Linked DNA regions of Homo sapiens: regions 1, 3, 4, 5 and 6 are each linked to region 2. Evidence: promoter capture Hi-C in 16 types of primary human blood cells and fetal thymus (Javierre and others, 2016). All regions are on one chromosome and are shown on one strand. Each heading gives the region's core, a stretch centred on a gene start or on the middle of the fragment in contact. The rest is flanking DNA. Distances are from core to core; before and after follow the strand shown. Region 1 overlaps LOC105378258 (a long non-coding RNA gene). Region 2 holds the start of MLEC (malectin). Region 3 overlaps LOC105370032 (a long non-coding RNA gene). Region 4 has its middle 37 kb from the start of P2RX7. Region 5 holds the start of HNF1A-AS1 (HNF1A antisense RNA 1). Region 6 holds the start of LOC105370030 (a long non-coding RNA gene).

Region 1 (3,521 bases), core at 1,005-3,504, 380 kb after region 2:
GGGTTTCACTCTGGTGCCCAAGCTGGAGCACAGTGCCTTAATCTTGACTTACTGTAGCCTCAACCTCCCAGGCTCAAGTGAGCCTTCTGCCTCAGCCTCCCGAGTAGCTGGAACCACAGGCAAACACTGGCAAGCCTTGCTAATATTTCATATTTTTTGTAGAGATGGGGTTTCTCTATGTTGCCCAGGCTGGTCTCAAACTCCTGAGCTCAAGCAGTCCTACTGCCTTGGCCTCCAAAGTGCTGGGATTATAAGTGTGAACCACTGCACCCTGCCCAGTGTAATTCTTATACTAGTGCCTCTATGAGTAGTATGTATATTTTCCTTTGGCTTCTTTCAAAGTTTTTTTTTTTTCTTTTTCTTTTTTTTTTCGAGATGGAGTCTTGCTCTGTTGCCCAGGCTGGAGTGCAGTGGCGTGATCTTGGCTCACTGCAAGCTCTGTCTCCTGGGTTTAAGCAATTCTCCTGCTTCAGCCTCCTGAGTAGCTGGGACTACAGGCACCCATCACCTCGCCCAGCTAATTTTTGTATTTTTAGTAGAGACTGTTTCACCATGTTGGCCAGGCTGGTCTCGAACTCCTGACTTCAAGTGATCAGCCCACCTTGGCCTCCCAAAGCGCTGAGATTACAGGCCTGAGCCACTGTGCCCGGCTTCTTTCAAAGTTTTTATCTTTGATTTTACAAAATTTGAATATGATATGATGAGATATTGACTTCTTTGTATTTATCCTGTTTGGTGTTCTGAGATTCCTGGATCTATGGCTTGGTGTCTGTCAATAATTTTGGTGAGTTATCAGCCATTATTAGTTAAAATATTTCTTCTGCTTCTTTCATTTTTCTCCTTTTAGAATTCCCTTTACGAAGATGTTATACCTTTTGTAATTGTCCCGCCATTTTTTGATATTTTTTTCTGTTTTCCTCAGTCTTTTTTTCTCTTGCTTTTCAGTTTGGGAAGTTCTATTGACATTTTCTCAGGTTCACGGATTTCTTCATCAACCACGTGCAGTCCACTGACGGGTCCATCAAAGGCCTTCTCCGTTTCTGTTACGGCATTTTTTATTTCTAGCATTCCCTTTTGATTCTTAGAGTTTTCACTTCTCTACTTACATCCCATTGGTTCTTGAATCTCATCCACTTTTTCCATTAGAGCCTTTAGCATATTAATCATAGTTATCAGTCTGATAATCATCAAATCTCTGTATATTGCAGTCTGGCTCTGATGCATGCTCTGTCTCTTCATACTGTGGTTTTTGCCCTTTAATATGCTTTGAACATTTTAGGATGAAGATGAGAGAGTTGTTATGTTTCAAAGAAAATAGGTACTGGTTGGGCGCGGTGGCTGACGCCTATAATCCCAGCACTTTGGGAGGCCGAGGTAGGTGGATCACCTGAGGTCAGGAGTTTGAGACCAGCCTGGCCGACACAGTGAAACCCCTTCTCTACTAAATATACAAAAAATTAGCTGGGCGTGGTGGCATGCACCTGTAATCTGAGCTACTTAGGAGGCTGAGGCAGGAGAATGGCTTGAACCCGGGAGATGGAGGTTGCAGTGAGCCGAAGTGGTGCCATTGCACTCCAGCCTGGGCAACAAGAGCCAAACTCCGTTTGGAAAAAAGAGTCTTCTCGTTATTTATCAGTTTGGGACAGGTGCTGAGGAGCGGCCAAGCACTGAAAGAATTTTACTGGCTGTCCCAAGTGGTGTCCCCGAGCTCTCAAAATCTACGAGCTGTCCGAAAGCATTTGGGCTTTCTAAGTGGGTTTCACATAATGACTATGATAAACCTGTGGTATTTATGCACTAATACCTGTGCTGGGCTATGTGCCCACTGACACCAGCATATATTGTGGATAGTGTGTAGGAACTCTATAGGCTCAGATAATTCCAGACGTGTCAATACATACAGATGATGGAACTCTTTTGCACAGTGACTGGTGGTCCCACAGCTGAGTGATGATGGTGCATCCGTTGCTCAGAGCCTCGGCGCTGGAGCCACATGCTTGGGTTCCCATCTTGGCTCTTTTACTTAGGAGCTCATAAACTTGATCACATTCATCTCTGTCTCTTTTTCTCCAACCGGTGAAAGGTGAGAGTAAGCCACGCCATACGTATGTGGTGACTTCTGAATTGTTCAATGTGTATAATGTTATCAGTGCAAATGCTCATGAAGCTTAATTATCAGTGAAATGCCTTGCTTTAGATTGCACGACTTAACAAGCTCAAAGATTCATGCAAGCCCGGGATTCCGAACTCCCAAGCCATTGTTCTTTCTATGACATCTTCCTGCTTGGTCTACAACCAACCACTTTATCCAAATTCATACTCAATTTTGAAATACTCAGATAAAGCTTTCAAAAATGCTGTCTGTGTCTGGCTGAGTGCACACTCAATGGCCACTCCACATAAAAGGGCACATTAGGAGGCCTGGCACGGTGGCTTATGCCTGTAATCCCAGCACTTTGGGATGCCAAGGCAGGTGGATCACCTGAGGTCAAGAGTTCGAGACCAGCCTGGTTAATATGGGGAAACCCTGTCACTACTAAAAATACAAAAAAAAATTTTTTAAAGGGCACTATGGTCCTCCAGAGTGGTCCAGTTGCTTGAGTCATGGTCAACAGATGAGCTGTGCGAATGAGATGAATACCAGTGTCCTGGGTGGAGCCGCTTATCTACTGACAAGTCTGCTGTGCTAAAAGTGGTGAAAAATATCATCTTGCCTTATTTATTCCTAGCAAATGTAAGTGCCTCTAACCTTAGATTGCTTCCGAGTCATGGAACCAACAGTATCTTAGCATCAACTCCGGGTGATGGGTTAGGGGAACAAGTCACACAATATATCAAAACAATATAAACAGTTTTTCAGAGCTGCAGCTCTATATGCAAACTTGTACAATTATCACCTTATTATTTTTAAATTTATCTTTATATATATATCCATATGACTTACTTGTTTCTTGGTGTGAATAAATCTGTATATTCTTGGTTAATAGTGTCTACCGATTCATTTCATGTCCCTATCTTTATTCAATATGGGCTACTCTTTGGATGAGAAAAAAATGATTGTACTTGAGTATATTTACCTTTGGAAAGGTAAGTAGGTTGGGTGATTGACTGTAGTTGATACCTCTATGATTCTGCATAAACTCATTTATAAAATAAACTCAAATCATAAAATAAATAATAAAAAATAAAAGTGGATCTTGTTTTACACACGAACACATAGACAATACACATTCTTATTATCTCTTTTTTAAAAAGTTGATTTATGGATATAAATGACATATCCCAAGTTTACTAAACTAAATAAACATTTCATCAAGAGGAAATACATATTAAAAGCAAAGATAGGTAAACTTGATTGCGTGAAAAGCCACAAAGACATCTGCATCTTTCTAGGTTTGCTCCAAATTTTTGAAATTAATTATTTTAGTAGCTACTTAATTAGGTAAAAAAACTGCATTACAACAAACTTTGCCATATTTTCCCCAGGAGTATACCTAATTGGGCAGTTTGAGGGGTACAGG
Region 2 (3,564 bases), core at 1,008-3,507:
TCAATAACAGGAGCCAGCCGGGTATCTTCTTCACCCTCTGGGGTGACCAAAGACACGAAGGACTGAGAGAAAGCCTTTAGAGGCCTCCCCCAAAATTTAATCCGTTTTTGTGATTGTTTCTCCTGGACTAGACTGCCTTGAGGATAAAATAAACATGAGCGCCTGGTGGCAGTGCAATACCTGAGTGGTACGTGGGCTCTGCAGGCCAACTGCCTGGAGGGAGGAAGCCCCATCACCACTACTTGTGTTTCTGTTCCCCATTTGCACCACACCCCTCCTTTGAGGGTAACTGAAGCCTCTGAGTTGTCAAGATCCTTAAAAGATGACAGTTTGAGAGAGAGAATAGTAGAATTAGAAACCCCAAGAGGCCAGGTGTGGTGGCTCACACCTGTAATCCCAGCACTTTGGGAGGCCGCGGACCCCGAGGTCAGGAGATCGAGATCATCCTGGCCAACATGGTGAAACTCGGTCTCTAATAAAAATAAAAAAAACTAGTTGGGTGTGGTGGCGCGCGCCTGTAGTCCCAGCTACTCAGGAGGCTGAGGCAGCAGAATCGCCTAAACCCGGGAGGTGGAGGTTGCCATGAGCCGAGATTGCACCACTGCACTCCAGCCTGGCGACAGAGCAAGACTCTGTCTCCAAAAAAGACAGAAAAAAAAAAAAAAAGAAACACCTTGGACAGGAAACATGTCTATGGGAGGAAGTAAGGCCAGATGCTTGCAAAATAGGGGGGAAAGTGAGACCGGGAGGGAACACTTCCAAAAGTTACCCCCATGGGGTCTGAATTTGGGGCCTGGGAAGGAATTTGGGTGCATTTAGATCCACCACTGATAGTCTCTATTTTGGCACCCTGTTTTGTTCCCGTATAGCACTTACCACTGTTCTAACTAAACAATTAATTTCATTATGGGTTGTGCAAAGTCTATGATTCTCATGCGGGACCCCAGGTGTGTTTTTTGTTCATGTAGCACAAAGCTCATTGCCTAAGTAGTAGGTAGGATTGGTAGATAAAATACAAGAAGTCCAGTTGTTTAAATTTTAATAAACAATGCATTTTTTTTTTTAGTATAAGTGGGTCCCATTTGCTTATCTGAAATTCAAATATAACTGGGCTTCTCCTATTTTATCTGCCAAATCTGACAACCCTGGTAGCAGGGACTTGATACATTTTTTTCCTTTTAGGGAGAATTTCTAAATCGACCAGTATTTATGGAAAATGCATAAGCGTTTTTTTGTTTTTTTTGTTTTTGCCTTGACTCTGCCCTACACTTGCGGTGCGACCCTTTGGCAAAATTCAGTCCCTTTCTATGCCTCAGTTTCCCCATCGGAAAAATGGGAGTTTGAACAGCGACCGAAGCGCAGGGATCGCCAGTGTGGGAGAGCGCCAGGTGAACTGTGAAGGAGCAGGGAGGGAGTTCGGGCCGTGCCCGTGCGGGACAACCCCGGTATCCACTCTGGGCACCGCCGGCGGCGACTCCCGCCAGCGCCTAGGGTGCCTCGGTCCCGCCCCTACGCAGCGGAGGCCGGCCAGAGGCCGTCGCCATGGAGACGCGAGCAGCCTGGCACCCACTCGCTCTCAAAGCCACGCGTTTCCGCTGCGTTGGAGCCTTCTCATTGGACGGCCGTCTGGACGCTACCACCCGCCCCGAGCCCGCTAAGGGGAGGGGGCGGGGCCTTATTCTCATGGGATTCGTTCCCTGGAGACCTGTGTCCGCGGCCTCTCTGGGAAAGCATGGGTCCTCTCCCTCACGCGGGGAAAAGGACTGCGTCTCTTAGGTCTGGAGAGTGTCCATTGCTTCTCCTACTAGAATTTATGCTCATGCTGCTCCCTGAGAAAAGAAGAGGGGGCGGGAAAGTCGGCCACGCCCCCTCCAGAGCCTATTTGGTCTCAGGAGCTAGAGCACCGGAAGTGCTGGCGACATGTCAGTGCGCCCTACCCTAAACCTTCCCCCCCCAGGCCACCTTTCCCATTCAGCTGTGGGATTCCGGGGCCGCCTGGGCGCTGCACCCGCCACTTCCGCATCGAACCGCCGCTTCAACCGAACTCACTCCCTCTGCGCGCGCTCCATCTGGTGCCCGACTGCTGGGCCGGCGCCTGGGAGAAGCCACGCCCTTTCCCGCGCCTGACAGCCAATGAGCGGGCGCCTCCCGGCGGGGTGGTGGGTAATTAATGAGGGCCGGGCGCTGATTGGCTGCAGCGTCGTGGCCGGGGGCAGGGCGGCGGGGTAGGTTGTTCCTGAGGTGGGAGGCGGTACCCGTGGCTGAGAAGAAGGAGGCCTGAGAGCGACATGTCCCCGGCGGCTCAGGCGGAGCGGCCCGTGGCGCTGTTTTTCTGAGTCCGGGGTGGCCTGGCAGCCGGCCGAGGACGAGGGTCGGCGGGGGCTGCCCCCGTGGTGGTGGCCGCCATGCTGGGAGCCTGGGCGGTTGAGGGAACCGCTGTGGCGCTCCTGCGACTGCTGCTGCTGCTGCTGCCGCCGGCGATCCGGGGACCCGGGCTCGGCGTGGCCGGCGTGGCCGGCGCGGCGGGGGCCGGGCTGCCCGAGAGCGTCATTTGGGCGGTCAACGCGGGTGGAGAGGCGCATGTGGACGTGCACGGGATCCACTTCCGCAAGGACCCTTTGGAAGGCCGGGTGGGCCGAGGTGAGAGTCCCCCTGCCGAGCCGCGGGATCCAGGGCCTGCTGTGCTGGGCGCAGCCGGCCGGGGGCTGCGGGCCCCGAGCCCCTTTCGACCCTGGGGCCGCGTCTCTGGAGCGAAGTTTCTCTCTGCAGCTTCTTCGGGGGCCCGCTCTGAGCTCAGGGCCTGGCACTGGCTCCAAGGTACCTAGAGTCATACAGGCAGAGAGTTGGCCAGAAGTTAGTTATATTTGGATTTCTCATCCTGCATTTTCTCAACCCCTCACTCCCATCCAAGCTGGGAGAGAAATGACGAAGGCGGCCTTTTGCTACCTCCAGGCCTCGCGGGTTGTAGGTCATGGGTGCCCCTGCTTCTCCTGTCGAGACAGTTCTTGGGAGATTCTCGTCGACCCAGGAATCGGCCGCTTTCCTTGCCCCTTCTGCAGGAGCGGGGCTTGATTCTTAGCCAGAATAGGAAGGAATCTTCGAAGAGAATGGGCCAGGAAAGTTTGATTGTAGCCTCCTCCCCCGCCCTCTTTTCGAGCGAAGAATATGTGTGCTTAAAAGTAGAATCGGCAGGCCGCCCCCAGAGGGTGGTTCTATCGAAGCCATCCTGCACGTGAGGCTGGTGGCTGTGTGTGAACTGGGTCAACCAGTGTAAGAATCCGAATGGTCTATCAGAGAATGCTTACAACCTCCCCTAGGTGATCCTGAGAGTTCTAATTCCAGCTTAGGGGGAAAATGATTGTGACTTAACTTGCTGGGCAACAGTGGTTTTTAACGGAGCTGCTCCCTTCCCAAAGTTAGTGTGTGTCAGAATTGCCAGGGCAGCTGGTTAAAAATGCAGATTCCTAGTCCCCACTCGAAATTGATTATAGTAGATTGAGCTTTTTTGCTGGGATCCAGGTTTCTGCACCAGGGGCTTGTGATGTAGGTTGCCCCGAGACCACC
Region 3 (3,367 bases), core at 693-3,192, 510 kb after region 2:
CTCAATACATTCCCAACAGCAATATGATACAGACCAGGTTCTCTAACCACATTTCAAGGAAATTAGAAATTCATTTTCTTTTTTTTCTTTTTTTTTTTTTTTCATTTGAGACAGAGTCTCGCTCTGTCGCCAGGGCTGGAGTGCAGTGGTGCAATCTCGGCTCGCTGAAACCTCCACCTCCTGGGTTCAAGCAATTCTCCCTACCTCAGCCTCCCGAGTAGCTGGGATTACAGACGCCTGCCACCATGCCCGGCTAATTTTTGTATTTTTAGTAGAGACAGGGTTTCGCCATGTTGGCCAGGCTGGACTCGAACTCTTGACCTTAGGTGATCTGCCTGCCTCAGCTTCCCAAAGTGTTGGGATTATAAGCGTGAGCCACCACGCCAGCCAGAAATTAATTTTTAAGAGGTAGATTTTTAAAATATTTGGAAGCTGATTGAAATATTGTAAGAAATATTGCTAAATGACTCAATAGAACTGGATAATGAATGTAATATATGTCAAAATCGGTGGCACACAGCTAAAGCAGAACTTTATTTTCATATTTATATTATTTTTATTTTTATTTTTATTTTTATTTTATTTATTTATTTATTTTTGAGACGGAGTCTCACTCTGTTGCCCAGGCTGGAGTGCAGTGGCACGATCTTGGCTGACTGCAAGCTCCACCTCCCGGGTTCACACTATTTTTATTATTATTATTATTATTATTATTATTATCATTATTATTATTATTTGAGCTGTAGTCTCACTCTGTCGTGCAGACTGGAGTACAGTGGCGTGATCTTGGCTCACTGCAAACTCCGCCTACCAGGTTCAAGTGATTCTCCTGCCTCAGCCTCCCAAGTAACTGGGATTACAGGTGTGCACCACCACACGCAGATAATTTTTGTATTTTCGTAGAGATGGGGTTTCGCCATGTTGGCCAGTCTGTTCTCGAACTCCTGGCCTCAAGAAATCTGCCCTCCTCACCTCCCAAAGTGCTGGGACTACCGGCATGAGCCACTGCGCCCGGCCAAATGGCAGATTTTGTCCAAATGGAAGGCTAAGGCTGACCCTAAGGCTAACCCTAACCTTAGCCCTAATGCTAACCCTAATTGGGTTAGGGTAAAATGACTAAAGGCAAGAGATAAGCATTCTGGATATTTCTTAGGGCAGGAAAGAAGCAACTTTTATCCTCCACTGACCCAAAGAAATTGACTGTACTTTGTCCCCCACTTCCCACTCAATTTCCTACTTTGATGCCCATTCCCCCTCCCCTTGTCCATCCCAAGCTTCACTCTGGAGACAGTAGCTAAACCTGTGCTAGTTAAACTTGACCCAGATCTGTTAGAAAAGAAGGGGCTATTGCAAGAAGCAGGGCGGCTTCAAAGAAAGCCAAAAGAAACTAACTGTACTGAGTCACCCCACTTCCCTCTCAATTTCCTATTGCCCAGAGAATGGAACTCATGAGATAGAAAAACGAGAAAAAGGGAAGCAAGTGAAGAAAGGGATAGGGCGCTACTCTCCACAAACACTTCCTGTTGGCTGTGCTGACATCACTGCATGCCATGTATCTCATGATTCGGTGTGTAGCTCACACACCTAACGCCTTAGACAACAAGAGCGAAAATCCATCTCAAAAATAAATAAATAAATAAATAATTGGGGAAATCTCAACAGAACATTTTGTGATTCTTATGTGGACTTAAAGGTTATTCTTATCCACCTCTAAAACAACTGAAAATGCAAAATGTTATAACACGTTGATAGTTTTGGAGTCTGAGGAGTCCTGCTTTCCTTCCTTCCCTCTTAGCGACCAATTATTATCTCTTTATTTTATTTTATTTTTTTAGATGGAGTCTCGCTCTGTTGCCCAGGCTGCAGTGCAGCAGCACAATCTCGGCTCACTGCAACCTCCGCCTCCCGGGTTCAAGCAATTATCCTGCCTCAGCCTCCTGAGTAGCTGGGATTACAGGCACCCACCACCATTCCCAGCTAATTTTTGTATTTTTAGTAGAGACAGGGTTTCACCATGTTGGTCAGGCTGGTCTCGAACTCCTGACCTCGTGATCTGCCCACCTCAGCCTCCCAAAGTTCTGGGATTACAGGCATGAGCCACCCTGCCTGGCTATCTTTTTTTAAATTATTTTTTAGAGACATAGTCTCACCATGTTGCCCAGACTGGCTTTGAACTCCTGGGCTCAAGCCTCCTGAGTAGCTGGGACTATAGGCTATGAACTATTATCTTATGGAGGATAAAGGGAGGCATAATGAACCAGAAAAATTTGCAAGGAGACCTCCAGAATGTTTTATCAGAAACAAATGAGTTTGAGCTTTTACTCAACTGTAAAATGGGATTCTGAGTATCACTCACGTGAAGGTGGTTTTCAAAAGATAAAATGCTGTTCAGAGCCAAAGAAACGTGCATTCTTGTTGTGTCAGATTTAGATCTGCTGGAGAATGCTTATTTAGCTAATAATCCAGTAATTGTTGAGGGATGGGAAAGACTCAACACTGTGTGTTTCAGAAAACCTGTCTTCACCAGAGAAAAAAGCAGATGGGTCTTCACAACGAGACAAGTTATATAAAAGGCACACTTTGTTATTTTGTTTTGATTCAAACTTTCAGGTAAGCTTGAAGGTGTCTGATACAAGATCACAAGAAATGTAGTTTTCTATTTTTTTTCACACTTTAAAAAAAAATTCCCCACGGTTTTTGTTTTGTTTTGTTTTTGAGACACAGTCTCACTCTGTCACCCACAGCAAGTGCAGTAGCGCGATCTCGGCTCACTGAAACCTCTGTCTCCCGGGTTCAAGCAATTCTCCTGTCTCAGCCTCCCACGTAGCTGGGATTACAGGTGCCCACCACCATGCCTGGCTAATTTTTGTATTTTTAGTAGAGATGGGGTTTCACCATATTGGTCAGGCTGGTGTCAAACTCCTGACCTCAGGTGATCCACCCACCTTAGCCTCCCAAAATGCTGGGATTACAGGTGTGAGCCACTGTGCCCGGCTGGTTTGGGTTTTTTTGAAACAGGGTCTTGCTCTGTCACCCAGGCTGGAGTGCAGTTGTATGATCTTAGCTCTCCACCTCCTGGGCTCAAGGGATCCTCCCACCTCAGACTCCTGAGTAGCTGGAACTACAGACATGTGCCACCACGCCTGGCTAATTTTTTGTACTTTTTGTAGAGATGGGGTCTTGCCATGTTGCCCAGGCTGGTCTTGAACTCTTGGACTCAAGGGATCTGCCTGCCTCGGCCTCCCAAAGTGCTGGGATTACAGATATGAGCCACTGCGTCCGGCCAGAAATAGGGTTTTGGAAGGCACATTTCCTGGAAAGCCTCCCTGCTTCTTGTAATAGCCCCTTCTTTTCTAACAGATCTGTT
Region 4 (3,440 bases), core at 781-3,280, 410 kb after region 2:
TTAGAGACTTCAATGTAAGACCTGAAATCATAAAACTACGAGAAGAAAACACAGGGGAAAAGCTTCCTGACGTTGCAAACCGTACATCTCATAAGGAGGCAATATCAAGAATATATACGGAACTCATGGAACACAGTAGCAAAAAACAAATCACCTGATTGAAAATGGGCAAAGAACCTGAACAGATATTTATCAAAAGAAGACATATAAATGCCCAACGGGTGTATGAAAAAGTGCTCAACAGCACTAATCATCAGGGAAATGCAAATCAAAACCTCAATGAGACATCACCTCACACCTGTTAGAATGGCTATTATCCAAAAGAGGAAAGATAACAACTGTTATTGAGGATGTGGGGGAAAGGGATCACTGTACACTGTTAGTAAAAATGTAAACTTGTACAGCCATTATGGAAAATAACATCCATCCACAGATGAATGGGTGAGGGAAACGTGTCTACGCAATGGAATATTATTCAGCTCCAAAAAAGAAGGAAATCCTGCCATTTCCAACAGCCTGGATGAACCTGCTATGCTAAGTGAGATAAGTAAGCACAGAAAGACTAATACTGCATGATCTCAGCCTGGTACAGTGGCTCACGCCTGTAATCCCAACACTTCAGGAGGCTGAGGCAGGTGGATCACCTGAGGTCAGGAGTTTGAGACCAGCATGGCCAACATGGTGAAACTCCATCTCTATTAAAGATACAAAAATAGATTGTGGTGGTGCACGCCTGTAGTCCCAGCTACTCGGGAGGCTGAGGCAGAATCGCTTGAACCCAGGAGGCAGAGGTCGCAGTGAGCCAAGATGGCACCACTGCACTCCAGCCTGGGCGACAGAGCGAGACTCCACATCAAGAAAAATAAATAAATAAATAAATAAATAAATACTGCATGATCTCACTTATATGTGGAATCTAAACTAACCAAACTCATAGAAGCAGAGAGTAGAGTAGAATAGTCGTTGCCAGGGACTGAGGGTTGGAGAAAACGGGGTGTTGTTTAATGGGTATAAAGTGTCAGTTATACAAGATGAGTAAGTTCTGGAGATGTAACGTACAGCGTGTAACAACACTCTGTTGTATACCTGAAATTTCTTAAGAGAGTAGATCTTAAGATCCTTAACCACCCCACCTCCAAAAAAGAAAGAAAGTGGTAACAATGTAAGATGGTGGGTGTTTTAGTTTGCGGTGATCATTTCACAATGTGTATTAAATATCCGGTTGCCCACTTTAAATATATACAATGTTTACTTTTCAAGCATATTCAGATAAAGCTGGGGGAAAACAAACAGCTTTCTGGGGCCATTGTTTGCAGACCCCTGAGTTAGGGCATTGTGTGATGGCTGGGTCAATTTCACTTCAGCATGGTAAGAGGCACGTGACAAAAACTGGCATGAAAGGGGCTGTTGGAACCAAGGGGCAGGAAAGGGCTGCCCTATAGGATCCGCCAGAAGACAGACCGGCATTTCACGAAGTGAGCAAATTCCGGAGGAAATAAAGGATTTCCGTTTTAAGGGGTTGGGAGGCAAGAGAAAAGGCTGAGAGGGTGTGTGTGTCTGAAATGGGGTCTCTGGGTGAGAAAACGTGTGAGATAAAGTGCGAGGCTGGAAAAACGCGCACGTGTGCAGGAGGCGGGGATCTGCTGCACCGAGTGTGCACATTTGCACGAACCGTGGGGGCGTCTGCGGCTGTGGGTGGAGAGGAAATCCTGGATCACACATCTGAGAGAGGGGGTGTGGGTGGGAGTGGGAGAGTATGTAAGAGCGTGGGTCGTGACAGGTGAGGGACTTGTGTGTGCAACTGTGCGTCCTGCGAGAGTGAGGAGGTCTCGGACTGAGGAACTGCGTTCAGTGCTCAGTGGTGAGTTCCCACGCAAGAGCCTGGGGAGTCAACCAGAAAGACCCGCACGCGGGGCGGGCCCAGCGACCTCGGGCGCCATCTGCTGATTACCAGACGCCACTACCTGAGAAAGGCCCCTCCAGTCTCCTCATTGCCCAGCTGCGGACCCTAAGCTGAGCCATAACCGTCCTACCAACCCACGTCAGCAGAAGAGCCCAGTGGGAGGGCGTGTGTTCACTTCTGCTCCTCTGGGCAAAGACGCCCAGGTCAGAAACACCCACCCGACCCTCCCACTACCCAGAGACAGCCCCACCTGCACAGCTCAGAGCAGGACCACTGACCCTCTGGCTCTCCGGTCATATTTGCTATTGAAGACCAGAATAAAGTATTTTTATCAGGATTGAATACATGACTCATGAATGAATAAATTCATTCTCCTTACATATCGGTTCCTATTGAGAAATATGGTGGCTAGAATTTATTTCCTCCGGAAAGAGGAATAAATGTGGAGCCCCTGGGTTTGGTGCTATTTATTACCCATTTCTCTGATGTTGTAAGAAAAGAGAGATTCAGAAGAAATATCACATTTCAGCCCCGAACTTACGTAGCTTGCTGCCGTTCTAGGTGATTTACTTAGATTGGCTTCTGCATTTTGACAAATGAGGAAATTGGGAGAATTAAAGCCTCTGGTTTTAAAGCCTGCTGCTGGGTCAAGTAGAACTGTGACTTTTATTTTTTTTTTTTTAGACAGAGTCTTGCTCTGTTGCCCAGGCTGGAGTGCAGTGGCACAATCTCAGCTCACTGCAACCTCCACCTCCCGGGCTCCCTCAGCGATTCTCCTGCCTCAGCCTCCCAAGCAGCTGGAACTACAGATGCCCACCACCACGCACGGCTAATTTTTGCATTTTTAGTAGAGGTGGAGTTTCACCGTGTTGGCCAGGCTGGTCTCAAACTCCTGACCTCAAATGACCCACCCACCTCAGCCTTCCGAAGTGCTGGGATTACAGGTGTGAGCCACCGTGCCCGGCCCAGAACTATGACATTTTGTTTTTGTTTTTCTCTGTTTCTTTGAAAAGAAATGGAGTGAAGGTGCAGAGATATGAGATAAATTATTTAAACACATTATTATTATTGTTGTTATTATTATTATTATTATTATTATTATTATTGAGTCGGAATTTCACTCTTGTTGCCCAGGCTCGAGTGCAATGGCATGATCTCAGCTCACTGCAACCTCCACCTCATGGGTTCAAGTTATTCTCTTGCCTCAGCCTCCCAAGTAGCTGGGATTACAGGCATGCGCCACCACGTCGGGGTATTTTTTTTTTTTTTTTTTTTTTTTAGTAGAGATGGGTTTCTCCATGTTGGTCAGGCTGGTCTCGAACTCCTGACCTCAGATGATCCACCCACCTCGGCCTCCCAAAGTGCTGGGATTACAGGCGTGAGCCACCGCACCCTGCCTTAAACACGTTATTAAATCAGTAAAATGAAGGGCCTGACAAATAAATGACCACTGAGCTAGGATGTAGAAGACCAAGGCCTGGAAGAAGGGGAGTCTGCCTCTTCTGTCACTGGTGAGCTACGACCTTCCCTGCAGGCA
Region 5 (3,275 bases), core at 759-3,258, 290 kb after region 2:
TCTTTAGAGCTCACCGGCAATGCGAGGTGTTTCAGGTAGAAGGAACAGCATCAATGGGGTGTTGGCTAGTGTTTAACAGCTGGCTCTCTGAAAAAGCAAAATAAAACACACACACACCAAATCTGATGGTCTGTTTCCATGATGTGAGTACCTCCAGCTGGGCCGAACTGACATCACTGAACACAGTGGAAAGTGATGACTGCAGTTGTCTCTCCTGGGAGCTTCAACACAGTACAGGCTGACAAAAGTGGGCAGGGGGTAAGGGCAGGTGGTGGGAGTGGCCTCTACGCCAGAGAAGGGAATGGAGAGGTCAGGCTGGCTAGAGAGTGGGGTTGAGTCGTCCATGCCCTTGAATGCCAGGATGAGGGCTAAAGAGTCAAATGGAATGGGTGACTTCATATGCAGAAGTTTTTACAAGAGAAGAGAACTCAGTTTGGCCAAGAGAAGTGGGGTCGTCATGTTGGTAATCACGTAACAGTGATCGTTCAGTCATGCGGAATGCTTTCAAGGTGTTGGACACTGTTCATTTTTTATTTTTAGTTTTTGAGGCAGGGTCTCACTCTGTCGCCCAGGCTGGAGTGCAGTGGTGCAATCTTGGCTCACTGCAACCTCTGTCTCCTGGGTTCAAGCGATTCTTCTGCCTCAGCCTCCCTAGTAGCTCGGATTACAGTTGTTTGCCACCACGCCCGGCTAATTTTTGTATTTTTAGTAGAAATGAGGTTTCGCCATGTTGGCCAGACTGGTCTCGAACTCCTGACCTCAAATGATCCACCTGCCTCGGCCTCCCAAAGTGCTGGGATTGCAGGTGTGATCCACCACACCTGGCCGCTTGCAGGGTGTTGGACACTGTGGATATCACCTCATTCATTCTCCTAACAACCCAAGAGAAGAGGAACTGAGGCAAAGAGAAGTTAAGCAAGTTGCCCAAGGCCATACGGCTAGTAAACGGCAGAACGAGGCTCAAACCCAGGCACTCTGGCTCTAGAGTGTGTGTTCCTAACCACTGTGCTCTAGCACCTCGGAACCTTAGTCTCTTCATCTGCAAAATCAGCACTGAGGTGACAAGGCCAACGAGCAGAGGGTTGGAGTTACCCAGAACAACAACAACAACAAAAGTAATAGTAACACATATTTGGTCAAGGCTTAGATTCTGGCGTCATGGGGATCTGGGTTCAAATCCTAATTCTGCCTTAGCCGATTAGGGTCCCTATCCTCTTAAAGCCTTGGTTTCCTTATCTGTAAAATGGGGATATCATGAAGCTGTTAGATGTTAAATGAGAAAATGAATGAGAAAATTGCATGTACTGTCCATAAAGTTGAAAAGATAATAGGGGTGGGAAGGAGAACAGTCCGAGTTTGAATGCAGGTGGGCCCTGGGGCATTGTCTGGACTGAAGGACAAGGGTCAGTTGAATTGCCAAAGAGCTCTGAGACTGGCTGAAGGGACACTCGTCTTGTGCTAGCTGCTAAGACCAAGGGGAAGCCTGTGCCTCGCCCGAATTTTAGTCTTGCAAACAGCTGCTCACCCAGTAGGAGAGAATTGTGATAAAACTCATAGCCACCATTTCTTGAATATCTACTATGCCCCGGGACACAGCAGACTATTTTAGAGAATTTGCGAAGGAAACACAGTGACATCTGTTGGACACCTTGCAAACTACCAGCTCAGGATAGTTAAATTTGAATGTTAGATGGAGGGAACTTCCTTTCCACAATGACATGATTTTGTAAAGCTGAGTGTATGGCAGTTGTCATGATTAAAAGCAAGTGCCATGCAGAAGTTATTGTGTAACAGGAAATGAGATTAGATAGCGTCCAATCTAATCTCAAGGTTTGAGTAGCTGTGGACAGCCCAACAGGCACAGGCCTCCCGTTAGTACATCCATACGAGAAGTTAAGAATGAGTGAAAATAGTTTTTTTTTTTTTAATTTATGTGCATTATTTTTTTCAAGCAGCTACCTTGTTAGGACATACTTAATAGTTATCTTGGCCTACCTACTGCACTTACTAAACAACTGTTCACTTTTTAATTTTTAATTTTCAGATTTTTTTGAGACGGATTGTTACTCTATCGCCCAGGCTGGAGTGCAGTGGCGTGATCTCTGCTCACTGCAACCTCCGCCTCCCGGGTTCAAGCTATTCTCCTGCCTCAGCCTCCTGAGTATCTGGGACTACAGGTGTGCGCCACCACATCCAGCTAATTTTTGTATTTTTAGTAGAGATGGGGTTTTACCATGTTGGCCAGGCTGATCTGGAACTCCTGACCTCAGGTGATCCACCTGCCTCGGTCTCCCAAAGCGCTGGGATTACAGGTATGAGCTACCATGTCCGGCTGTTCCTTTTTTTTTTTTTCTTTTTCTTTTTTTTTTGAGACGGAGTTTCTCTCTGTCACCCAGGCTGGAGTGCAGTGTCATGATCTCAGCTCACTGCAACCTCTGCCTTCTGGGTTCAAGTGATTCTCCTGCCTCAGCCTTCCGACTAGCTGGGATTATAGGTGCCCACTGACAAGCCTGGCTAATTTTTGTATTTTTAGTAGAGACGGGTTTTCACCATGTTGGCCAGGCTGGTCTCGAACTCCTGACCTCAAGTGATCCACCCACTTCGGTCTCCCAAAGTGCTGGGATGACAGGCATGAGCCACTGCGCCCAGCCACTGTTCGCTTTTTTTCTCAGTGGTTCTCTAGTCCATTGCCTTAACCACTCACCATGACTACAGCTCTTATTTGCAGTGACTCTCAAGAATGCAAATGCAAATGCCATTCCTGACCTCGAGTTAATTCAGCTTTGTCCCCTGAGCATGGGGGAAAGGCAGGCTGGGGGCTGGAACTTTCTGCTTGTGTACCTATCTCTTTAGACTCTGGAGGCTCCTCCCCAATCTCTGTCATTCCCTCTCCAACCAAATCCACCTGCCGTCCCAGACTCAAATGCTCAGCCACCTAACTGCCTGAGGACCCAGCAGTTAATGAGTTTACATGCTGGGGGCAGGAGTCAGGGCCAACACTCCTTGGTTCCTCTGGCTCCCTGGAAAGGGAAAGTCACCAAGAGGCAGCTGCAGGCAGCAAAGAGAATAAGCAGGAGAACCTCAAAGCCACAAAGGGACAGCACACAGCATCTTCCCTGTTTAGCCTGGACTTGAGAATGCTGTCCCCAGCAGTAAGCTGCTCAACCTCAAAGCAACTTGCACGGGGGTTTACAAAAAAATGCACTTGGCCGGGCACGGTGGCTCACGCCTATAATCCCAACAGTTTGGGAGGCCGAGGTGGGTGGATCTTTTGA
Region 6 (3,298 bases), core at 773-3,272, 430 kb after region 2:
CTTAAGAGCAAGAGTTGTGGGGAACCCAGGTGTTGATAATTTGCCAGCATTTGACGTGATGCTTCATGGTTTTATTCCTCCCCATTTGCAGACAGGAAAACCGAGTTGCAGACAAATGAAAGTGACTTACCTCAGGGCCTTTGCATGTGACATCCTCTCTGCCTGGAATGCTCTTCTCAGATATCACCTTGGCATCCCCCATCACCTTCTTAAGGTCTTCACTTAAAAGTCATCATCTGGCCGGGCGCGGTGGCTCACCCTGTAATCTCAGCACTTTGGGTAGGCCAAGGTGGGTGGATCACGAGGTCGGGAGATCGTAGACCATCCTGGCTAACATGGTGAAACCCAGTTTCTACTAAAAATACAAAAAATTAGCTGGGCATGGTGGCAGGCACCTGTAGTCCCAGCTACTCAGGAAGCTGAGGCAGGAGAATGGCGTGAACCCGGAAGGCGGAGCTTGCAGTGAGCCGAGATCGCGCCACTGCACTCCAGCCTGGGCAACAGTGTGAGACTCCATCTTAAAAAAAAAAAAAAAAAAAAAGTCATCATCTTAGGGAGGTCTTTTCTGATCACCCTATTTAAAAGTTCAGGCTGGGCGTCATGGCTCACACCTGTAATCCTAGCACTTTGAGAGGCTGAGGCAGGAGAATCACTTGAACCTGGGAGGCGGAGGTTGCAGTGAGCCGAGATTGCGCCACTGCACTCCAGCCTGGGCGACAGAATGAGACTCTGTCTCAAAAAACATAAAAAAATAAAAATAAATAAAAATAAGTTAGCTCCATGCTTTTAACTCAGTAACAAAAAGACAAATGACCAACGTCAAAAGTGAGCAAAGGACTATCTAAGAAGATATATATACACGGCCAATGGGCACATGAAAAGATGCTCACCACGTAATGATATGTATTAGGGAAACACAGATCAAAACCACAGGACACACGACTTCCTATCACTAGGATGACTGTTATTTTAAAAATGGAAAATAACAAGTATTGGTGAGGAGATGAAGAAATTGGAAGCTTTGTATATTACTGATAGGAGTGTAAAATGGTGCTGCTGCTGTGGGAAACTGGCCATTCCTAAAAAAGTTAAACATAGAATTACCATATACCCAGCAGTTCCACTTTTAGGTTTTTACCCCAAAGAATTGAAAATGGGGACTCAAGCAGATACCATTTTTATTTTTATTTTTTATTTTTAGTAGAGATGGGGTTTCACCGTGTTGGCCAGGCTGGTCTCGAACTCCTGATCTCGAGTGATCCACCCGCCTCGGCCTCCCAAAGTGCTAGGACTGCTGGCGTGAGCCACCATGCCTGGCCTCAAACAGATACTTGTAACCTAAATGTTCACAACAGCACTATTCACAGTAGCCAAAGATGGAGACAACCCAGATGTCCCTAAACAGACGAATGGATTAACAAAATGTGGTCTATCCATGTGATTCAATTTTACTCAGCCATAAAAAAGAATGAAAGGCACATGCTACCACATGAATGAACCTTGAAAACAAGGTGAGATTCTTGTGAAAGGAGCTAGTCACAAAAGGCCACATAGTGTATGATGCCATTTATGTGAAATATCCAAAAACAGACAAACCCACACAGAGAAAGAAAAGCAACGGTTACCAGGGGCTGGAGGAGGAGGAATGGCCAAATGGGTACGGGGTTTCCTTTTGGGGTGATGAGAATGTTCTGGAACTAGACAGAAATAGTGGTTACATAACACTGTGAATGAACTAAATGCCACTCAATTGTTCACTTAAAAAAAAACAGAGATGGAGTCTTGTCGTGTTGCCTAGGTTGGTCTCTAACTCCTGGGATCAAGCAATCCTCCCGCCTCAGCCTCCCAAAGTGCTGGGATCACAGGCCTGAGCCACCGCGCTGGCCAATTGTTCACTTTTAAATGATTAATTTCATGTTATTTGAATTTCACCTCAATGGAAAAACTCAGCCCCAAACATGCCTTATCTTCCCTCCCTACCTGATTTTTCTCCTAATGCACAGGGCCCCTCACACATGGTATGTCCGGCCTATGTGTCCATTGTTCATCCTGCTTCTTTAAAATATAAATTCCAACAGGGTAAGGATTTCATCTGTTTTGTTAACTCACATATGCCCAAAGAGTCTCTGGTACTCAATAAATATTTGTTGAATAAATGAATTAGATAGGGTGTGGTGATGGAGAGAGTCCCGCCGCCATCCCTGCCCCCATCTCTAATTCTAACGTTCTAACCCGGCTCTTGACCTTGGAGCCGGTTAACGATGATCCTGTCTGGGCTCATTTTCCCTCCTTTTCCTGAAGAGCAGCATCCACAGGCCCTCACTCAGCTCACTCCCTTTTAACCCTTGTCTGCTGAGAGTTTGAGATAAAGGGGGCCACGAGAGAAGACAATGAATCCATTACAATGTGTGATGAGCTGTCTGCTCTGTGGCTTCCCACAGCAATTTATCATGACCTGGAACCACAGCTGTGAGGCCGGGTGTTCCCCCGCCAGGACCTCACTCCCCAGCTGCTTCAGAAGGGAACATTTACAGGAACCTGTCCATACCTATTTAATGAACAGCTGCTCGGATGCAGCCCTGTCCCAGGCACTCAGCCAAATGACAAATGAACTATATAATCATTCATTCATTCGATGATTCATCCATTCTGTGATTGATTGATTCATTCATTCATGTGGTTGTCAAACATTCATTGAGCACCTACTATGTGCCAGACACTGTACCTTGCACTGTGGCCCTTAATATCAGAGATGTCAATGTATGATAGACCAGGATTCCTCAGCCTAGGCACTGGGGACACTTTTGTTTTTTGTTGTTGTTGTTGCTGTTTTTGAGACAGGGTTTCACTCTGTGGCCCAGGCTGGAGTACAGTGGCACAATCACAGCTCACTGCAGCCTCAACCTCCTGGGCTGAAGCAATCCTCCCACCTCAGCCTCTTAAGTAGCTGCGATTACAGGCACACGCCACCATGCCTGGCTAATTTTTTTGTATTTTTTGTAGAGATAGGGTCTCCCTGTATTGCTTAAGCTTGTCTTGAACTCCTGAGCTCAAGCTATCCTCCTGTCTCAGCCTCCTAAAGTGCTGGGATTACAGGTGTGAGCCACCATGCCTGGCTACTGTGCACATTGGAACCAGGTATTTCTTTGTCACAGGGGTTGTCCTATAGATTAGCAGCACCCCTGGCTGCAGATGCCAGTAGCACTCCCTCAGTCGTGACAACTAAGATGTCTCCAGACATTGCCAAACGTCCCTGGGGCACACAGTCATCCCTAGTTGAGAACCACTGGTCTAGACA

Evidence for each region. The method cuts DNA at HindIII sites, captures the fragments that hold promoters and counts their contacts. A CHiCAGO score of 5 or more calls a contact.
Region 1: a fragment that was not itself captured here is called in contact with the fragment with the promoter of MLEC in region 2 in 2 of 17 cell types (total B cells and naive B cells); the score reaches 6.5 in total B cells.
Region 3: a contact is called between a fragment that was not itself captured here and the fragment with the promoter of MLEC in region 2, in 1 of 17 cell types (naive B cells). The highest score is 5.7, in naive B cells.
Region 4: a fragment that was not itself captured here is called in contact with the fragment with the promoter of MLEC in region 2 in 2 of 17 cell types (total B cells and naive B cells); the score reaches 6.5 in total B cells.
Region 5: the fragment with the promoter of HNF1A-AS1 here is called in contact with the fragment with the promoter of MLEC in region 2 in 3 of 17 cell types (activated CD4 T cells, megakaryocytes and total B cells); the score reaches 6.7 in activated CD4 T cells.
Region 6: a contact is called between a fragment that was not itself captured here and the fragment with the promoter of MLEC in region 2, in 1 of 17 cell types (total B cells). The highest score is 5.1, in total B cells.

What each region holds. Positions count from the first base shown.
Region 1 is chr12:121,065,623-121,069,143 of GRCh38, forward strand. The region is part of intron 3 of LOC105378258 (a long non-coding RNA gene); the gene reads right to left. Among named protein-coding and RNA genes, the nearest start is that of OASL, 28 kb to the left of the region's middle. The HindIII fragment of the contact is 178 bases long and covers 2,166-2,343 here.
Region 2 is chr12:120,684,892-120,688,455 of GRCh38, forward strand. MLEC (malectin) reads left to right here and starts at 2,258. Exons shown (of 5, transcript NM_014730.4): 1 at 2,258-2,640. The coding sequence starts at 2,406. LOC105370029 (a long non-coding RNA gene) reads right to left here and starts at 2,258. Exons shown (of 3, transcript XR_945449.3): 1 at 1,963-2,258. RefSeq lists silencers at 173-262, 1,377-1,476, 2,317-2,616 and enhancers at 1,637-1,746, 1,837-1,966, 2,061-2,562. The HindIII fragment of the contact is 12,504 bases long and covers 1-3,564 here.
Region 3 is chr12:121,195,599-121,198,965 of GRCh38, forward strand. All of the region lies in intron 2 of LOC105370032 (a long non-coding RNA gene), which reads right to left. Among named protein-coding and RNA genes, the nearest start is that of P2RX4, 13 kb to the right of the region's middle. The HindIII fragment of the contact is 1,341 bases long and covers 1,273-2,613 here.
Region 4 is chr12:121,094,185-121,097,624 of GRCh38, forward strand. No RefSeq gene overlaps it. Among named protein-coding and RNA genes, the nearest start is that of P2RX7, 37 kb to the right of the region's middle. The HindIII fragment of the contact is 3,941 bases long and covers 61-3,440 here.
Region 5 is chr12:120,970,284-120,973,558 of GRCh38, forward strand. HNF1A-AS1 (HNF1A antisense RNA 1) reads right to left here and starts at 2,009. Exons shown (of 1, transcript NR_024345.1): 1 at 1-2,009. RefSeq lists an enhancer at 2,602-3,129. The HindIII fragment of the contact is 11,110 bases long and covers 1-3,275 here.
Region 6 is chr12:121,111,766-121,115,063 of GRCh38, forward strand. LOC105370030 (a long non-coding RNA gene) reads left to right here and starts at 190. Exons shown (of 3, transcript XR_007063494.1): 1 at 190-289. The HindIII fragment of the contact is 2,011 bases long and covers 1,018-3,028 here.